Regions from separate parts of the Homo sapiens genome. Here regions 1 and 2 are each linked to region 3. Evidence: promoter capture Hi-C in 16 types of primary human blood cells and fetal thymus (Javierre and others, 2016). All regions are on one chromosome and are shown on one strand. The core of a region is centred on a gene start or on the middle of the fragment in contact, and the rest is flanking DNA. Distances in the headings are between cores, read along the strand shown.

Evidence for each region. The method cuts DNA at HindIII sites, captures the fragments that hold promoters and counts their contacts. A CHiCAGO score of 5 or more calls a contact.
Region 1: the fragment with the promoter of CASR here is called in contact with the fragment with the promoter of CD86 in region 3 in 16 of 17 cell types (neutrophils, monocytes, M0 macrophages and 13 more); the score reaches 14.6 in neutrophils.
Region 2: a contact is called between the fragment with the promoter of SLC15A2 here and the fragment with the promoter of CD86 in region 3, in 12 of 17 cell types (M2 macrophages, total B cells, naive B cells and 9 more). The highest score is 18.4, in M2 macrophages.

What each region holds. Positions count from the first base shown.
Region 1 is chr3:122,182,313-122,185,012 of GRCh38, forward strand. CASR (calcium sensing receptor) reads left to right here and starts at 1,356. Exons shown (of 7, transcript NM_000388.4): 1 at 1,356-1,500. The HindIII fragment of the contact is 2,199 bases long and covers 1-1,620 here.
Region 2 is chr3:121,893,112-121,895,811 of GRCh38, forward strand. It overlaps SLC15A2 (solute carrier family 15 member 2), which reads left to right and starts at 1,290. Exons shown (of 22, transcript NM_021082.4): 1 at 1,290-1,470. The coding sequence starts at 1,366. RefSeq lists enhancers at 1-249, 250-782. The HindIII fragment of the contact is 13,918 bases long and covers 1-1,624 here.
Region 3 is chr3:122,054,000-122,056,699 of GRCh38, forward strand. It overlaps CD86 (CD86 molecule), which reads left to right and starts at 1,363. Exons shown (of 7, transcript NM_175862.5): 1 at 1,363-1,504. The coding sequence starts at 1,491. It also overlaps a transcript of ILDR1 not described here. The HindIII fragment of the contact is 6,821 bases long and covers 1-1,395 here.

The sequences.
Region 1 (2,700 bases), core at 106-2,605, 130 kb after region 3:
TACACACTGGGACACACTGGTAAAGTGATCAAGCACCAGGACTGTAAGTCAAGCTGATCAGGTTCAGCTCTTGGCTCTGCCAACTCCTAGCCACCCAACCCTAAATACCTGAAACTGTATGCATCAGTTTCTTCGTCTTTAAAATGGAAGCAATAATAGATCTTCAGAGTAATACTTTCTTAAAGATAGTGCCCAAATTTGGACATTATGCCCAGGTGTAATCCGACCAGTGAAGAGCATCAGTTCAGCCTAAGATTGCAGCCTCATTCGGGTTTTGAACTGAACTCGTTCAGCCTTTGGGTGTTCACAAAGCTGTGCTTGTAGCCAACTAAAATAAAATCTAAGGTATTTTGATAGGCACCACTACTGAGCCACATCCTCCATTACTTACATTGCTGGGTGTTTCGGCCTGAGGGAGGACTTCACATTTATTCCTATTAACCAGATTTTGCCCCCTTCACTGGTGCTTTAGCATTTGCTCAGCTCCTTCTCCTACCCTGTATTTGAGGGAAAGGAAGCCAAATGGGCAGAACTTGGCCATAATGAGGATGTGTTTGACATGCTGGATTTGAGTCTGTGTTCCATTGAAGAAAAGAAATGGAAACTTTGTTGAGTATCCATTCTATACAGGGCACTTTCCTTGACTATTTCATTTAACACTCCAAGGACCCCCTGAGGTAGATGTTATCGCCATTTTGCAGAGAAGAAATCTGCATTTTTATTTGAAGTTCTTAAACATGGTAAACGACCCAATTTTCTGCTTTTTGCTTAACAGTATTTTGCAAACATTTTATCATGTTACTTCATGTTTTCCTATTTTTTTTTTGCTTTATAAATAAATACATACTCCCTCCTTATTCTAAAAAGAATTTGAAGCACTTCTGTCTTGATGTTTATCATTTTAATGGTTGTATAATGTCCCATTAAGTCACCCTAATTTATTCAACAAATTTCCTACTGTTGACAGTTTGGCTCTGTTTGCTTTTTGTGGTTTTTAAAATTATTTTCTGTAACAAATGATCCTGCTAAAAAAAAAATCTCCGCACGAATATTATTTTGTTCTGGAAATTTCCGCAAGGGTGGAATACTGCATTAAAGGGGATAATATTTTTGGTGTTTCTTTATAGAGCCTAGCAAATTGCCCACCCAAAGGAGTATGCTTTATTTGAGAGTAAAAAGCCAAAAACAAACAAACACATACAAAAAAACTGGTTTTCTACAAAAGAAATTAATTTTCCACTTATTCATAAAATATTCTAGTGCTGTGATGGGTGGCAGGCACCGTGCCAGGGGCTAGGGACAAGGATAAGCAAGGCCAGGTCCGGGCCTCCAAGCAGCGCGCTGTGGAGTCGGGTAGAGTAGACCAAGTGCAACAGGCACCTGGCTGCAGCCAGGAAGGACCGCACGCCCTTTCGCGCAGGAGAGTGGAAGGAGGGAGCTGTTTGCCAGCACCGAGGTCTTGCGGCACAGGCAACGCTTGACCTGAGTCTTGCAGAATGAGTAAGAGTTTGGGCACGCGATTTGTATTTATTTTACTGTGAATCTCTGGCCTTATATCAGAAAAAAAAAAATTGTGCCACCCTCGGCACAGAGAACGTTGGTGGCGTCGTAAGCGCCCTAAGCTTCTTTCCATCGCCAAGGAGTAGGGGTCAGGGAAGAGGACAGCGGGAACAGGATTTGAGAGCCGGGAACCCCTGGCTCGGCACGGGAGAGGGCAGGAGAGGACCTAAGCGCGGGGCTCGCCGTCTGCTGGGGACCCGAGCCGGCCTGTGGCCCTCGGGGAACCGAAGACGCGCCCTCAGCGACCCTGAAGAGTCAGCTAAGCTCTCTGCGGGCTAAGGAGACGGTGAAGGAACCGGGACTAACTGGGGTAGGGGTTAGAAGGCAGCCCGCGAGTGGGCTACGAGGGGAGCTGGGCTCGGCAGTTGGGGACCCCGAGGGGGCAAGCGGGCGGGGAGCAGGAGAGGGGCGGAGCTCCGGGGCCGGGGCCGGGGCCGCAGCGGCCGCCCAGAGGGTCTGCGGGGGCTGCTGTGGCCGGACCCGAAGGCGGGCGCCGGGAGCGCAGCGAGCCAGACGCGCCTCTCCAAGACCGTGACCTTGGCATAGGGAGCGGGGCTGCGCGCAGTCCTGAGATCAGACCAGAGCTCATCCTCGTGGAGACCCACGGCCGAGGGGCCGGAGCTGCCTCTGTGCGAGGGAGCCCTGGCCGCGGCGCAGGTAGGACCGGGGAACCCAAGGAGGGCGGGAGGAAAGCGCCCCTGGTGGGGGAGGGGCCGTGGCGGGGTCTGGGGGCCAAGGGCTCCGGGCCGAACGAGGGGCACACGCCGGAGCAGCTCCAGCCTGGGAGCATTGGGCGTGAACGTGGGGGAAAGTAGGGACCAGATTACAGGATCAAGGCTTTCCCCGGCTCAGAACTGGATTGTTCAGTGCCCCTAGAAGGGGCAGCGGGTCGCCCACGCGAATGAACGGGAGCGCGCACCAAAACGCCTGCTGTTGGTAGTTTCTTGTGCCTCTGCCTTGTTTCTGCCTGTGATATAGTCAGAAAGGACTCGCTTGCCACGTGTTAACAAGGGGACAGGTAGCTTTTACAGAGTGTATGAATATGGAGGGGAGGGCCACAGAGTCAGCTCTGGCCCCAGGGGCCGTCAGTGCCCCCACAGGATTCCTGGTCCAAGCTACCAGCTGTCTTGGGAACTTTGC
Region 2 (2,700 bases), core at 40-2,539, 160 kb before region 3:
TTTCCTTTCTTTCCCTTCTTTTCTTTCTTTCTTTCCTTTCTTTCCCTTCTTTTCTTTCTTTCTTTCAAGTCTTGCTCCGTCGCCCAGGCTGGAGTGCAGTGGTGGGGTCTCGGCTCACTGCAACCTCTGCCTCTTGGGTTCAAACGATTCTCCTGCCTCAGCCTCCTGAGTAGCTGGGACTACAGGCGCGTGCCACCACACCCAGCTAATTTTTGTATTTTTAGTAGAGATGGGGTTTCACTATGTTGGCCAGGCTAATCTTGAACTCCTGAGCTGTGATCAGCCCACCTCGGCCTCCCAAAGTGTTGGGATTACAGGCGTAAGCCTCTGCACCCAGCCAAAACTCACCATCTTTCTTATCTTCCAAACTCAGTTTTATGATGACTTTCCTTCTCCAATGCATTTTAATCCTCTGCATTCCTACATTCCATTTATGTAACCTCCATACCTGAATAATGACTGACACTAACTCCACTTTTCCCAGCTGTCATGGCATAGTGAAAATTCCAGATCTGCCACTTAGTGGACAGGTACTTTGAACAAATTTCTTAACCTCTGGGAACATTACTTTCTATAAAATGGGGATAGTAATATGAATTAGAATAAATATATATGTTATAGATATACAACATAGATGTAATTCATATATATTAACCTTTCAATAGTAGATGTTCAATAAATTACAGCTATTGTTACCCTGAAATCAGTTTTTCTTTTTTTTTTTTTTTGGAAATGGAGTTTCGCTCTTGTTGCCCAGGCTGGAGTGCAATGGTGCAATCTCAGCTCACCGCAACCTCCGCCTCCCAGGTTCAAGTGATTCTTCTGCCTTAGCCTCCTGAGTAGCTGGGATTATAGGCGCCCGCCACCACACCCAGCTAATTTTTTTTTTGTATTTTTAGTAGAGACGGGGTTTCACCATGTGGGCCAGGCTGCTGACCTAAAACGATCCGCCTGCCTGGGCCTTCCAAAGTGCTAGGATTATATGCGTGAACCACCGCGCCTGACCATGGAATCAGTTTTTCAATCTGTGCTCGAGGTGTTGTGTTCTTAACTATCTTCTACTCCTTTGCAAAGATAATCTTTCTTAAACATAGACTTTCTAATCAGTTCTCTAGCATTGTTTCATTCTGTCTTTGGCATGTTTTCACTTTGCTGTGCTGTACTTTTACACATTCTTTTTAACTATAGCTTCCTGCTTTGCTCTGGATCAGGAAGCTATTGAAGCTGACACCCACAGAGTTAAACTGAGTTGCTGAAGCCACCAGCTCCCCCTCCCAGTCCTTCTTTTCAGAGTAGGCTGGCAGCTGTCCTAACTGCCTACTAAAGCCAAATGCTTGAGGAGAGAGAGAGAGTAAGGAGCCAGCCATGAATCCTTTCCAGAAAAATGAGTCCAAGGAAACTCTTTTTTCACCTGTCTCCATTGAAGAGGTACCACCTCGACCACCTAGCCCTCCAAAGAAGCCATCTCCGGTGAGTCCTTAGATTCAATCCTGCCTCTGAGAGGAATGGCCTCCCTCTTTTGGCTCTCTTCCTTGGGCTCTGGAGCTTCCAGCTGAGCTGTATTAGGGTATTAAAATGCTTCTCTCTTGGATTTAGAATTCACCTGAAACCAAATCTAAACAGAAGCTTCCTTTACATAAGAAGACAAAGCAGCAGGAAGAGGTAGTCAAAGTTCTTCAGTTGGGATCCAGGGACTTGCTGAATTTCATTGCATATTCTGTTTCCCTGGGGGAAAAAAGCAATTCGAATGTCCAGGGAAACTTGGCAAGCATTCTTGTCTGAAGAACTGTGTGTGATTGTTCTTTCTTTACCAATATAAAAACTCTGCCCTTAGTTCTCCCTGTGTGCAGAGTCTTCTGCTGAACACCAATGGAAGTTTCAGAATAGATCCAATTTCTGTTACTATGTGTTCCCAGTTTACTGTGGGAGATAGGACAGAGAAACAGAGAATAGTAATGTTTTGCATTTATATACTCGCTAAAGCACTTCTAAACTCATCATCTCAGTCAATTCTTACACTAAAATTCTGTAAGTGGGGAGGATATAGTAATGATAGCCAAAATTTACTGAGTTCTTACAGTGGGCCAAAAGGTGATGTTATTCTCATTTCTTTGGAATAACAGAACAGAGGTTTTGAGACAGGTGTAGTGACAATGCCAGTATCAGTATGTTAACACAGCCAGTGGCAGTGTTGCCTAACTAGCTAACAGTGTGTCGGCTAAACTCCAGATTGCATAATTCTCAAGCTGTGAGCTGCAAAGGTAAGAAGCCCAGTTCATTGTATGTTTCAAACAAGCTATTATAAAACATTAAAATATATTAATATTTAGGAGGATCATTTATATATATCCCTAGGGTTAAAAGAATAATACATTACTTTATTATTTTGCCTATTTTTTTAGTTAATGATATCTCTTCTGGTCCCAAAGAATTTAGGGCTACTTGCAAAGATGTATATACTTCTCATGAAATGAGGCAATATAAATCTTACAAGATTTGACTGTACTGAGGACAGATACCTCTATGTCTCTTCTCATGTTAGTTGGTCTATTGTAATAGATAGGGAATTAAAATAAAACATAACATTCCTTATATTCTGACTGATATATTACATGAAAAGCATAATTCTTTTAATGTCCAGTAGGATTATCATGAAAATGTTATAGAATCTCTTTAGTAGGAAGAGTAGACATTTAATTT
Region 3 (2,700 bases), core at 113-2,612:
TATTATTGCTGTCTTCATTTTTTAAAATTCTCAAATCCAGATGAAATTATCAAAGTTGATAAAATAATCATTGTTCTATCTTCTTATTTGAAGATTAATAATTGTGTTGATTTTGCTTCCTTGCTCTAGTTAGCAGTGATGTCATCTGCTATTTTTAAACTTCCTTGAAATAATATATGTAATCTACTTCTAATAAGTTTTTCTTATTTAGCATTTTGGTCTAAACTAATTTATAATTATTTAGCCTTATTTCTCCATGTTTAACTTGCTTTAAAGCTCAGCACTGGTGTTTTCAGCCATGGCTTCTCCATTTTAAGGCTATTTTAATTCATTTATTATTCTGGAATATATCCTTAAATAATTTATTTAGGAAGGCTGTCTTGGTGGTGGTATTTCTGTTGCAGTTGTTGTTTTCTTGCCTGCTTGGTGACATATTTCTATTGACTTGACACTTAACTGGCATCTTATCTAGGTAGATAATGCTAATTCAAAATTCTGCAGATATTGTTCTGTTGTTTTTTGCCATTTAGGGTTGAGTAAGATGCCAAGTTGTTTTTTGTTTCTCTGTAGTCATTCTGTTTTCATTTTGTTTTTAGCTTTGCCTTTGGAATTTAAAATGTTCAAAATGATTTGTCTGGATGAGAATCGATTTTCATAACTTTTGCTTTGATACACTAAACAGTTTGAGTTTCTAGATGATGCCCATTTTAATTCATACGAGGAAATATCTTCTAGTATAGTTTCTGCTTGATTAATTCTATGTTTGTCTCTTAGGGACATCTATTAATTTTATAATGCTGCCTTTTTTTCAGACTTCTGTTTCAGAATATTCGCTTTCATCAATGTAATCCTTGGCTATAGTAGGAATGAAATAATAAAAGCAGTAGCTTCTGTCTGCCCTCCTTGGTTATGCAGTCCTTACAGAACATCTCCCCATCTCCCATCCCCCCACCCCAGCTCAGTGAAACTCTCCACACTTTGGTTGTGGAAATTGGCAGGGTTAGGTGGCTACTCACTCCCAATCCACATCCACAATAAATCACTTTTTATTATCTTATCAAAATCTGTAGAATGCCTCTTTATTCTATTTTGTTGCTGCGGAGGTTTGTTTTCTCTTTCTAATTATTTTATTTTCTAGGTTTTTTGAGGGAATTTCAAGAGGGGAGATTTTTTATTCAGGCTCATCTTAACGTCATGTCTGGAACTCAAGCTACTGAATTATATATTCTTTAATACATATAGACCTACGTCAATGAGTTTAAACTGCAAGGAAAGGGTTAAATTTCTTCCTCAAGTGTGGTCAAAATCTGTAGAGAAAAGAGGAACAGCTTCTCTTAAAGAAAGTTAGCTGGGTAGGTATACAGTCATTGCCGAGGAAGGCTTGCACAGGGTGAAAGCTTTGCTTCTCTGCTGCTGTAACAGGGACTAGCACAGACACACGGATGAGTGGGGTCATTTCCAGATATTAGGTCACAGCAGAAGCAGCCAAAATGGATCCCCAGTGGTGAGTAATAATTCTTATTCTTTGCAGAGAAGTTATGAGTTGTGACTGCAGTGAAAGGCTGAGGTTGAAGATGGTGCTTTGATGTGTGTCCTTCACTTAGTTCCTAAGTGGAGAAGCTTTCTTTTTCTACAAAAGATCTTTGGCACATAAAGGCAAGAATTATTTGCAATGCCCAAAGCAGTTCATTGGTGGTAGTTATATATATTTTTAGGTGCCTAATTTTGGTTTTGTAAATCTGTTATTCAAATACTGAATGTTACAGTCATTGATTTTAGTGAAGAATCAGGAATTTTTAAAATATCTGCATAAGAATGACAAATAACAGGGAATATGTTTTTTGTCTACCAGGGTCAGTTTGGTCTGAGGGTGGAGGAATGAGATAGAGAAGGTAGAGGGAGAGAGATCAAGAAAAAGAAAGAGAAAAAAGAGGTATAAGGAGAAAATGCAAAACTCAGTTAATATGTCATAATCAGGCCATGGGAGATTCTGGGCAGGGTTGGGTAGTGGAAGGAGGTAGAGTGATTAAATTAGTTACCATGTATTGAACATGCATGATGTGCTGGGTACTTTACTAGTGCTATTTCATTGAATTTTATTCTTCACAATGACTTTTGGAAAGACATCATCATTCTTTTTGACAGATGGGGTAACTGTGGCTTAAAAAACTTGCCCAAGTTCACACTATTCATAAGGGGTAGAGCTAAAATCTTTCCTGCCCGCTTCGTGGTGCGCCAGAAGGTTTCTCCATGCTGTGGAGACTTCCTGGAAGGAGTCACACCCGCCCTTCTCTTGGGTGGTGGCAGCTGGCGCCAGTCACTATGTATTTATTTATTTTTAATTATTTATTTTTGAAACAGAGTCTCGCTCTGTCGCCAAGCTGGAGTGCAGTGGCGCAATCTCAGCTCACTGCAACCTCCGCCTCTCGGATTCAAACGATTCTCCTTCCTCAGTCTCCTGAGTAGCTGGGACTACAGGCGCCCACCACCACGCCCGGCTAATTTTTGTATTTTTGGTAGAGACGGGGTCCACCATGTTGGCCAGGATGGTCTCGATCTCTTGACCTTGTGATCTGGCCACCTCGGCCTCCCAAAGTGCTGGGATTACAGGCGTGAGCCACCGCGCACCCGGCCGTCACTATGTATTTATAATTACTGTTCTTTGAAAATCGAAGTAACTTTCATCTACCCAGTGCTTAC